Regions from separate parts of the Homo sapiens genome. Here region 2 is linked to region 1. Evidence: promoter capture Hi-C in 16 types of primary human blood cells and fetal thymus (Javierre and others, 2016). All regions are on one chromosome and are shown on one strand. Each heading gives the region's core, a stretch centred on a gene start or on the middle of the fragment in contact. The rest is flanking DNA. Distances are from core to core; before and after follow the strand shown. Region 1 holds the start of EPHA1-AS1 (EPHA1 antisense RNA 1). Region 2 has its middle 100 kb from the start of PRSS58.

Region 1 (5,947 bases), core at 651-3,150:
GAAACCCTGAGAGAAGGGGTTCCAGAGCCAGAGTTGTAGATGCTCCAGTAACTTAGGCAGCCCCCTAAGTGGTTCTGTGACCAGCTGTGCTGCTGGCAGAAAGGGTGCTGTGAATTGTAAAATATATATTTGGTCTTTGTCCACATTTCCTGGCAAACAACCCCTAAAGCCCTCAAAATCCCTGAAGTGACAAATGTCTTTTTATATGCTAGTGAGCTGACTGCCGGGGATGGGAACTAGACTGGGGTGGGGGAGGCCTGGGTGGCAGAAGGCAACCTTGTGATTGGAGTTGGGACTTTCGGCCCCACCCCCAACTTCCAGGGAAGGTAGAGAGGTTGAAGGTTGAGCTGATAACCAGTGGGCAATGATCTAATTAATCACGCCTATGTAATGAAGTCTCCATAAAAGCCCAGAAGGATGGGGTTGGGAGGGCTTCTGGATGGCCATACATGATTAGGTCCCTGCAGGGTGGCTCGCCTCCTTCACATATACCTTGCCCCATGCAGCTATTCCATCTGGTGTTCATGGTACCATTTGTAATAACCGTTATAGTAAGCCAGTAAATCCAAGTCAATGTTTCCCTGAGTTCTGTGAGCCATCCTAGCAAACTAATTGAACCCGAGGAGGAGGGTCAGGTAAACCTGATTACAGCCGATGGAACAGAAGTATAGGTGACAACATGTTACTTGTGATTGTTGTCTAGAGGAGGGCAGTCTTGTGGGGCTGAGCCCTCAACCTGAGGCTATCTCCAGGTAGATAGTGTAAGAACTGAATAAGATTAGAGGACACTCAGCTACTGTCCACTGAAGAATCTGCCAGAGAGAACTGACTGCAGGCGGGAGGAATCCCTACACGCATTTTGGTGACCACAGGTCACCGAAGTGATTTGTGTTGAGAGTGCAGTAGGAAAAAACTGAGTTTGGTTTTTTGTACATCATAAGAGCTGCTCTCTGCATTTGAGTCTGAATATGCTCTCTCAGACCCACCTCACAACCTGTTCACTGAGTCTTAGGAACATCCAAGGAAGGAAGGGAACTGGAACAAGCTCTGACACTTTCAAACAGCTGGAATGCATGGTGTGCACGCAGTCAGCCTGAGGAGGTGTGGAGGATGAGCTAAGGGCTCAGAAACCTTTAGGGGAGCAGCTTTTAACTTCGGAGGAGTCAAAGACCCTTTGAAGAATTTGATGAAAGCTTTGGCTGGTCTCTCCAGAAAAAAAAATGCCCGCTTACATATACAGAATTTAGAGTACACTTTCATGGGGTTTCCCCACCCCCTGAAACCTATCAATGCAACTTCATTGGGATGAATGGATCTCAGATTGAGGATGCTTTTCTGCCTTTTCTATCCCTCCCCAAGCAAAGCACTGGTCTCAGCCTTCAACCATCCCCAGCATGGTGCATTCTCTCCCCGGGTATGTGAGCTCCTCTCCCCCTCACAAGTATCAGCTTGTATTCACAATATTCCCAAGTATTCACTGGAGGAGCCAGGCCATTCAAGCGTTCATCTTGAGGTGAAGTCTGACCCCCCCACCCCTTGTCCCATTGAGGAGGCTCTGACTCAGCCTCCTCTCCCCCTCCCTGAGGAGACACTTCCAGTTTTTCCTGCTCTTTTCTCTGTTCCTCCACCCACCTCTCCACCCCATTTCCCACTGGCCTTCAGGAGTTTTCCAAGATCCTTCCCTCTTCCGACACTTACCCCATCTTTTGGGGGATCCAGCAGCCAGCCCAGCTCTCCCTGTGCCTTGCTTGTGTCCATCAGAGTAACTGAAAGTGGGGAGAAAAGAAGTCTGTCACCTCTGGGGGAGGAGGTGCCCCTGCAGCCCACATTAATCATTCTGGGGCCTCAGCCCCAGGCTGCAACATCCTGTTCCTAAAAGCTGTGACTTCCTGAGGCTTAGGGGAGAAAAAGGGCTCAGGACTGAGGAGTGAAGAGCTCCAGGGATTTCACTCTTCTTTGTGTGTGTGAAGGAAGGCAGGTAGAGTGGGACAAGGGTTGGGGCGCTGGGTCTTTGACCAAAGTCAATGCAAGAAGAGCAGCCCCACGAGACGCTCAGTTACCCAGGCTGCTGCGTCCTGGGACACCCATCAGCTGCAGGATTGGAACGCGTGGAGGGCAGGAGGAGCTCACCTCTGCTAGCCAGGAGTGGGCAGGGTGGACCGGGGACCTCAGAAGGGGTTTCCTGGGTAGGGAGGCTCACCTCCACTGTCCGAAGCCTGCTTTGGCCTGACCTGGCCAGTGATCAGAGCCGTGAAGTGGGGATAAGAGGCACAGCTACCTGCCTGGGAAGTGGGGGGGAGTAAGGCCGGAGAGGGTGTTCCAACTTTCACATGGAATATTCGACTCGGACAACTGGGAACCCCTGTGGCGTCAGTCCTAACCCTTCTCCCGGAGGCAGCTCCCTCTGTCCCTGGCCTAGGTTGGCAGGAGGCGACTTCCCACCTTCAACTTCCAAGGGCTCAGATCTCTGGGGTGGGCACCTGAAGCTGGGACTGTCTGGGAATGCAGGCAGGGGTGCGGGTGCAGGTGCTACTTCCTGGCAAGGGTCCGGAATTCCCTCCCCACTCCCAGGAGCAGATTGCTGGCCTGCGGGAGTGGGGGTGACTGACCCGGGAGAGCAGCCGCTTGGGGTTAAAGACCAAAGATGGGCCTGGCCAGTCGATAGCCTGGCGGTCGGGCACAGCGAGAGAGCTGGCGAGGGTCTCGGGGAACATGGCCCCTAGGAATGCCGGCTTCTGCAGGGGGGTGCTGGCCGGGCCCCGGGAAGGGGCGGGGCGCGGGGGTTGGGGGCGCGGGGGCGGGGGTCGGTACCTTCCTTGGCGCGCGCCCCCGGGGGCAGCGGGGCGCAGAGCAGCAGCACCAGCCCTAGCCCCAGGGGCCAGCGCCGCTCCATAGCTCCGGGCCGGGACCTGGGACAGTGGCCCGGATGGCAGCGCCAGGTTGCAAGGGACTAGGAGAGCCGGGCGGGCCGGGCGGGGGCGGGGGGCGGGGCCAGCGCCGGGGGCGGAGTCCCGGCCTCACCTGGTTCACCTCCTTAAAGGGACAGTAGGGCAGGAAAGAAACTTGCTAGACTGGTAATCAAATTCAAGAACCGGAGGCGTCTTGACCCGAATGAGACTGCGGGCGCCGCCTAGTAGGTGGGATTAAGAATTGACGAACCTTTTCCCAATTCTAATCCTAAACTCAACCCAATCTTGATCCAGCTTTTAACCTAATTCTACCTCTGACTTGAATTACACTCCTATATTCCTCTTTCTGTCTTTGTGCAGGCCCCAGAGCTGGGTAATAGGGCCGGGGAAGGCAAGGGGTAAGAGTCATATCTTCACCCTCTAGCAGGGGAGGCTTAGATGACCACAATGCAAGGTGGGGTACAACCTGCAGTGAAGCATCTGGAGATTAGAAGAGGAAGCAAGCCCAGTCATCGGGGCACATTAGTTGAGTCTTCAGGGAGAGCTGGTGTGACCTGGGTTTTCAGTGGCAGAGATTGGGAAAGGCACCAGCAAGGGCCTGAAGGCAGGGAGCCTCAAGGTGCGCCCAGGGAGTGGTGAATGGACCAGTTTGACTGCTGGGGCGCAGGATTTGTCTTGGGAATCAGGGCAGAAAGGCAGGTGTGGGCCAGGGCTGGGTAAACAAGAAAAGGAGTTTGAACCTTGACATGCACTTACACAGCAGACATGAATATCTGGTTAAGGTTCCAGCCACAGGTGGCAGGGAAGGATATTTTAACCCATCTTAGTGGTGTCAAACCACGTGCCCTCTCACTTTCTTGCGGACTTCCTTATATTCTTTTTCTTTTTTGAGATGGAGTCTCGCTCTGTGGCCCAGGCTGCAGTGCAGTGGTGCAATCTTGGCTCACTGCAACCTCCGCCTCCCTGGTTCAAACGATCCTCCTGCCTCAGCCTCCCGAGTAACTGGGATCACAAGCGTCAAGCGTGCACCACCACACCCAGCTAATTTTTCTATTTTTAGTAGAGACGGGGTTTCACCATGTTGGCCAGCCTGGTGTCGAACTCCTGACCTTAGGTGATCCCTCCTGATCTCAAGTGATCTCCCTGCCTCTGCCTCCCAAAGTCCTGGAATTACAGGCCTGAGTTACTGCGCTCTGCCGAGACTTTCTTATATTCTATTTAGTAAATGTTTGTTCAGTTTCTGCTATGCATGCAGGAAGCTCTAGAAGCACCTAAGAACAGAAGGACAATGTCTTGCCCTATATAAGCTATTAATTTGGGGATGCTGGGGGTTGAGACATAAATAATTGCACAAATGATTGAAATGGCGGGCAGGAGTGGACCCCAGGCAAGGTACACACAGGGATCACAGTAGCTCAAAGGGGAGTGATGCATTTACTAAAGAGGCTGGGGGTCCACTCCTGGCCCCTCCTTCTTTCGCTCCATCCCATCTGGGTAAATTGTTCATAATTTTTCTATCATTTACATTGTTGCACATTTCGGTACTGTGAATGAAGGGAGGTGGTGGATTATAGGTGCTTTTTCTCATTTTCAAAATGTAATGCTTCTCAGGTTTTTTGTTTTTTTTTTTTGCTTTCTTATGCAGATACGTATATGACAAACACGGCCCATCAGTTCTTGGCTCAGACTATCCTTATTTGCATAAATAAATGTAATTCATGTACATTGGTTAGGAAATTCATGTTGAACATACAGAAACAAAATGGGAAGTAGAACCCTCTGCCCTCCAACACTCTAATTTCTGTTCCCCAAGTTAACCACCATCAACTGTTTCTTGTAAGTCCTCCCAGGATTGCTTCCTCGCTGTGTACACACCATCGTGTATTTTTCCCTCCCTCTCTCCCTCTACTCCCACACTTACATGCTTTTAAAATGTGTATACAGAGGGGCCATCTGACACACATTGCTCTGCACCAGAGGCCTCTTTTCTAATGTTAAAGACTCCAGGAAGGAGGAGGAGGCTCACGCTGGCTGGCGGGGGTCAGAGCTTTGTGATTTCAGCAGGGAGGAATGGGCGAAGGGTACAAAGCCAACAGAAGGGGGGAAATGGAGCAAGCGTTGGACAATTGCTGCTAGGACATAAGCCAGACTGTGGTGAGGTAATGCATGTGCTTGCTGCTGCAGTTTGTTAAAGTTACAAGACCCTTGGGACTCCAGAGGGTGGGGGGTGGGGGGTGGGTGTGTGGAGTGGGGGAGACTGCTCCATGCAGTGAGACATGGAGTCTAGAACCCTGGAAAAAAAAGTCTTGCTTTTTGTTTTAGGATAGGCTCTTTATCCTGGTCTGAAAGTCTCTGCATATGGGGAATGAATGTCCACTTTCTGTCTCCTTTCAGGATTATCTTGATTTGACATTTTCTGGTTAGTTTGTCATGAGAGGAGGCACATCTTCAAGTTTAGTCTCTGTTCTTAACTAGCAGTACAACTTTTGTCAAATTATTTATGTTCTCTGGACCATGGTTTCAGTTTCCCTAGACCTAGATGATTTCTGAGGCTATATTCAGGGATGGTCTCAGAAAATAAAAAGCTAGCAGGATTTTGAGTCAGGAGACTTTGGCCAGTTCCCTTAGCCATAATGTGCCTCAGTTTCCTTAGCTATAAAATGAGATTAATCACGTCCACCCCACAGAGTCAGTGTAATGATCAAAAGAGGAGAAAGTGCTTTATGAACTGTAAGGTACTGAGCAAATGTTAATTGGCTAGGAGAATGGTGGAGGCTAGGAATTGCTGGAGTTCTCCTGCAGGCCTCCCAGCTTGCTCCCAGAGCAGAACAACCTCAATTACTAAGACATCATTATTTTTCCATTCCAAAATCAACTTTACTGAGGGACAACTTGCATAAAATAAGTTGCAGCCATTCCAAGTGTACGGTTCAATGGGCTCTCACAAATGTATATGCACCACCACCTCAGTCAAGATGCAGAGCAGTTTCAGCATCTAAAAACATTCACTGGTGCTCCTGTGAATCAATCCCACCTCC
Region 2 (6,063 bases), core at 2,795-5,294, 1.0 Mb before region 1:
AAAATAGGAATAGTAGCTCCCAAAATGAAATTTGTGTCTCATTTTCTTTATGAGAGAAAAGAAAAAAAAACAGAAAGCAGCTGGGCAGCTTTAACCTGCTTGAGTGATCTGGGATTCTACAAGTCTACAAGTGGTACAAAGAACATCACCTTGGCCTGGATGCCAATGGATACCAAACACTACAAAAAGTATTGAAAACAATTTATAAAAGACCTAAATAAACAATCTACTTATAGGAAATGTTAGTAGATCCATCGCATAGTGCCATTATACCTGACGATGATCAACTAGTGAAATTATTATGTAGAGATTATCAGCTAAGCCTCTACTTATTACCTCTGAGCATAGAGCAGTGTTTGAGCCTTCTGAGGGTATCTTAAGGAAGGAACTTAATTCTTACCATTACTTTGGCTTGGATTAAAATCCATGAGCTTGTCGTTTTTATTGTAAAATATTACAGAATAATAATGATCAAACGTTTTATTTTCCTCTAGCGTTTATTCCTCTTTAGAACGTGCAGGTTGAAGCTCACACACATGAGCAGGGTTCCTTAAGATGAGATCCATTAACTCCAGGACTGGGAGGTACACAGCTGGCCTTCACAGGAAGTGCAAACCCCAAATGCAGTGACCCCTCCTGTGTCTACGCTGTGCCCAATACCCCTCTGTGAGGCTGCCATAAAGGCGGGCAGGCTCCTTGCTTGGCAAAAAAATCAGTTCACCAATTGGCCACTTTGCTGAAGACCAGAATAAAAGGCTAAATTGTGAGAATGATGAATGCCCAATTCCCAAATTGTGAAATGTGTAACAGTTCACGATTCTTGGAATAATTTCAACCATGTGTGGTTTGTTTTTTTTTTTAAGTTTTTCTTTGTCGACAGCTTTCTTTCGGCCACTGATCCTCAGTTGTTTCCCAGCCGCCTTGTCAGCTGATCTCATTTTGATGCTAATTTTTTTTTTTTTTTTGCTAGCTTTGGGATTATTTGTTCTTGTTTTACTATGTCCTCTAAGTGTGGTGGTAGGTTGCTAATGTGAGATCTCTCTAACTTGTTTATGTGGGTGTTTCGTTCTGTAAACAATACTCCTAACACTGCTATAGCTGTGTCCCAGAGATTCTAGTATATTTAATCTTGGTTTTCATTAGTGCCAAAGAATGTCTTGTTTTCTACCTTCATTTTATGGCTTACCCAAGTCATTCACTAGCAGATTGTTTAATTTCCATGTAATTGTATGATTTTGAGAGATCTTATAACTCTTGATTTCTATTTTTTTTGTGCTGTGGTCCAAGAGTATGGTTGACATGATTTCAGTTTTTTTTATAATTTGTTTACAATTAGTCTGTGTCCAATCATGTGGTTGATTTCAGAGTATGTGCCATGTGTAGATGAGAAGAATGTGTATTATGCTGTTATTGGGTGGAGTGTTCTGTAGATGTCTGTTAGGACCACTTAGTCAAATGTTGAGTTTAGTTTATGAATATCTTTGTTAGTTTTCTGCCTTGACAATCTAATACTGAGTGTTGAACTCTTCCAGTATTGTTGTGTGGTTTTCTACGTGTCTGTAGGTCTCTAAGAACTTGTTTTATGAATCCAGCTGAACCAGTGTTGGGTACCTATATATTTAGGATAGTGAGGTCTTCTTGTTGAATTGGGCCCTTTATCATTATGCAATGCCCTTCTTTGTCATTTCTGATAATTGTTGGTTTAAAGTTTGTATTGCCTGAAATTAGAATAGCAACTTCTGCTCTTTTTTGTTTCCCATTGGCTTGGTCATTTTTCTCCATCGCTTTATGTTGAGCCTATGGGAGTTGCATATGAGATGGGTCTCCCGAAGACAGCATACAGTTCAGTGTTTCACTTGTCTATACAACTGGACGCTCTTTTTTTTTTTTTTTTTTTTTTTTTTTGAGATGGAGTCTCGCTCTGTCGCCCAGGCTGGAGTGCAGTGGCGCGATCTTGGCTCACTGCAAGCTCCGCCTCCTGGGTTCACGCCATTCTCCGGCTTCAGCCTCCCGAGTAGCTGGGACTACAAGTGCCCGCCACCACGCCCAGCTAATTTTTTGTATTTTAGTAGAGACGGGGTTTCACCGTGTTAGCCCGGATGGTCTTGATCTCCTGACCTGGTGATCCGCCCGCCTTGGCCTCCCACAGTGCTGGGATTACAGGCGTGAGCCACGGCGCCTGGCAGCTCTTTTAATAATAAACGACTTTTATGTGCTGTGTTTAGCCTGTTTACATTCAAGGTTAATATTAATACGTGTAGATATGATCCTGCCATTGTGTTCTTGCTTGGTTGTTATGCAGACTTGATTGTGTAGTTGCTTTATAATGTCAATGGTCTATGTACTTGAGTGTGTTTTTTGGTGGCTGTTAGTGATCTTTCATTTCTATGTTTAGGACTCCCTTCAGGACCTCTTGTAAGGCAGGTCTGGTAGTAACAAATTCCTTGAACATTTGCTTGTCTGAAGGGATCTTATTTCTCCTTTCCTTATGAAGCTTAGTTTGGCTGGATATGAAATATATAGGGATACTGGTTGGAATTTCATGTCTTTAAGAATGTTGAATATTGGCTCCCAATTGTTTCTGCCTTGTAAAGTTTCTCCTGAAAAACCTGCTGTTAGTCTGATGGGATTCCCTTTGTAGGTGACCTGCCTTTTCTTTCTAGCTGACTTTAATATTTTTTCTTTCATGTTGACCTTGGAGAATCTGATGACTATGTGTCTTGGGGGTGGTTGTCTTTTATGGTATCTCATAAGAATTCTCCGTGTTTCCTGAATTTGAATATTAAACTCTCTAGCAAGGTTAGGGAATTTTTTGTGCTCAATATCCTCCAATATGTTTTCAATGTTGCTTACTCTCTCTCCCCCTCTTTCAGGGACATCAATGAGTCATAGGTTTGGTCTTTTTACATAATCCCATATTTCTCAGAGGTTTACTTCATTCATTTTTCTTTTTTTTCCATTCTTTTTTTGTCTGACTGAATTGATTCAAAAATAAGTGTTCAAGCTCTGAGATTATTTTCTCATTGATTATGCTGTTAATACTTCTGATTACATTATGACATTGTTGAGGTTAGTTTTTCAGCTCTATCAGATCAATTTTGTTCTTTCATAAAATAGCTATTTCATTTTTCAGCTAATGTGTCATTTTATTGGATTCATCAGATTCCTTAGATTGACTTTCAGCTTTCTTCCGAATCTTGATAGTGTTTGTTTCTAACCTGTTTCTGAATTCTATGTCTATCATTTCAGCCGCTTCAGCCTGGTTAAGAATCATTGTTGGGAAGCTAGTGTGTTCATTTGGTGCTAAGAAGGCACTCTGACTTTTTAAGTTGCCAGAGTTCTTTCACTGGTTCTTTCTCATCTCTGTGGTCTGAGGTTTCTTTAATCTTTTAAGCTGATGTCTTTTGGAAGGGTTTTTTGCTTTTATATTCTATGCCCTTGAGGGTTTCACTGTTACATAAGCTGGGTTCAGGAGACTGGCTTCATTTATGGAATATTTCAGGGGGCTAAGATTCAGCTCAGTATTTCTGGGCTGCGTGTTGTAGGCCTGTGGTGCTGGAATTAAGCCCAGAGCTTTGGTTTTTGACCCCTTAAGGTTAAAGCACCTGCTACACCAGAGGGGCTGAGGCGTTCCCAATTCCACTGGCAACAACACTGCAATGGGGAATGCCAGCCAAAGTACTTTTTCCAAATGGTGGCATTGGGGTACATGCTCAGAAGCATGTGCCAATAATGGCAATGTGGCAGTTTCCATACATATGTTTGTGCTAGCTTTTTTATTATTATATAGTAAACTTCTTTGCCTCTTTTTATAGTTATTGTCTTGAAATATATTTTATCTGATATAGATATAGCTACTCCTGATCTTTTCTGGTTTTCACGTGCATGAAACATCTTTTTGTTATCTCTTCACTTTCAATCTATATGTCTTTTTAGGGGAGGTGTGTTTCTTGTAAGTGACAGATCATTGGGTCTTATTTTTATATTCATTCAGCTACTCTATGTCCTTTGATTGGTGAGTTTACATCATTTACATTCAATGTTATTGTTGATAACTAAGTACTGGCTCCTGCCATGTATTTGTTTTCTGGTTGTTTTGTGGTCTTCTCTTCATTTGTTTCTTCTTTCCTGTCTTCTTTTTAGTAAAGGTGATTTTCCCTGATAACGTGTTTTCATTTCTTGTTTGTTATTTTTGTGTATCTGTTGTATGTGTTTGTATTTAAAGTTACTACGTTGCATATGTTTGTATTTAAAATTACTATGCATGAGGCTTGCAAATAATATCTTATACTGATGACAACATAACACTGATTGCCTAAGCAAACAAACCAAAAAAAAACAGAGAAAACTAGTAAAAATCTTATATTTTAACATTGTCCACCTACCTTTCAACTTTGTGTCATTTCTATTTATATCTTAGGCACTGTCTATGTCTTGAAAAGCTGTAGTTTTTTTTTTAATTGGTTCATCTTTTAGTCTTTATAAGTAGTTTACACGCCGTAATCACAGTATTATAATATTGTGTTTTTCTTCGCACTATTATCAGTTAGTTTTGCACCTGCAGATAATTTCTTATTTCTCATTAATGTTCTTTTCTTTCATGCTGAAAAATTATCTTTTGCATTTCTTCTAGGACAGGTCTGGTGTTGAGGAAGTCCCTCATATTTTGTTTGTCTGGGGAAGTCATTATTTCCCTTTCATGTTTGAAGGGTATTTTCACTGAGTACACTATTCTAGTATTAACGTTTTTTTTTTTAGCATTTTAAATATGTCATGCTGCTCTCTCATGACCTGTAAGATTTGCACTGAAAAAGTCTGCTGCTAGACTATATTGGTGGTCCATGGTATGTTATCTGTTTCTTTTGCTGCTTTTAGAATCCTTTCTTTATCCTTGAAATTTTGATTTATCCTTGAAGTTTGATTATTGTCTTGATGTAGTCTTCTTTGACTTAAATATGCTTGGTATTCTATAATCTTCTTTTACTTGAATATTGATATCTTTCTCTAAGTTTGGGAATTTCTCTATTATCATAGCTTTGAATAAACTTTCAGCCCTATCTCTCTCTCTACCTCCTCTTTAAGGTCAATAACTCTTAAAGTTGCCCTTTTGAGGCTATATTCTAGATCTTGTATTTGTGCTTCATTAATTTTTATCCTTTTGTCTCCTCTGGTGGTGTATTTTCAAATAGCCTGTCTTCAAGCTTACTGATTCTTCTGCCTCATCAATTGTGAGGTTGAAACCCTGATGCATTCGTCAGAATGTCAATTGCATTTTCAGCTCCAAAATTTCTGCTTGATTGTTTTTAATTATTTAGCTCTCTTCCGGATTCTGAATTTCTTGGCTGTGTTGTCTTGAATTTTGTTGAGTTTCTTCAAAACAGATATTTTGAGTTCTGTGTCTGAAATGTCACACATCTCTCTCTCTCTCTCTGGGATTGGCCTCTGGTGCTTTATTTGGTTCATTTGGTGAGGTCATGTTTTCCTGAATGGTCTTGAGACTTGTGGATGTTTGCCTGTGTCTGGGCATTGAAGAGTTAAGTATTTATTGTAGTCTTTGCAGTCTGGGCTTGTTTGTACTCGCCCTTGGAAAGCTTTTCAGGTATTTGAATGTACTTGGGTGTTGTAATCTAAGTTTTCTATCTCTGAAACCTTATCTGCATTAGGGAGCACCCCAAGTCCAGTAATTCTGTGGTCCTTGTGGACTCACAGATATACTGCCTTGGTGGTCTTGGATAAGATCTGAAAGAATTCTCTGGATTATCAGGCAGAGACTCTTGTTCTCTTCCTTCACTTTCACTCAAACAAACATCTCTGTCTCTCTCTCTGCTGAACTACCTGGAACTGAGGAGTAGTGGTACAAGCTCCCTGTGGCTGCCATCACTGAGATCCTAGGTCAGAAAAAGCCAGCATGATAATGGGTCTCACCCAAGGTCCACAGTAACCACTGCCTTGCTTGTTGCCTATGTTCAAGGCCCCAGGGATCTACAATCAGCATGTGGAAAAGTCAGCCAGTCTTATACCCTTCCCTTCAGGGTCACGAGGCCCCCTGACCCCAGGCACATC

Evidence for each region. Contacts are between HindIII fragments. The CHiCAGO score rates a contact against its expected background, and 5 or more counts as called.
Region 2: a contact is called between a fragment that was not itself captured here and the fragment with the promoter of EPHA1-AS1 in region 1, in 1 of 17 cell types (fetal thymus). The highest score is 5.9, in fetal thymus.

Annotation. Positions count from the first base shown.
Region 1 is chr7:143,405,913-143,411,859 of GRCh38, forward strand. It overlaps EPHA1-AS1 (EPHA1 antisense RNA 1), which reads left to right and starts at 1,901. Exons shown (of 5, transcript NR_033897.1): 1 at 1,901-1,974. It overlaps EPHA1 (EPH receptor A1), which reads right to left and starts at 2,944. Exons shown (of 18, transcript NM_005232.5): 1 at 2,812-2,944; 2 at 1,699-1,766. The coding sequence starts at 2,893. RefSeq lists an enhancer at 3,016-3,628. The HindIII fragment of the contact is 7,900 bases long and covers 1,192-5,947 here.
Region 2 is chr7:142,359,193-142,365,255 of GRCh38, forward strand. It overlaps TRB. Among named protein-coding and RNA genes, the nearest start is that of PRSS58, 100 kb to the left of the region's middle. The HindIII fragment of the contact is 3,097 bases long and covers 2,497-5,593 here.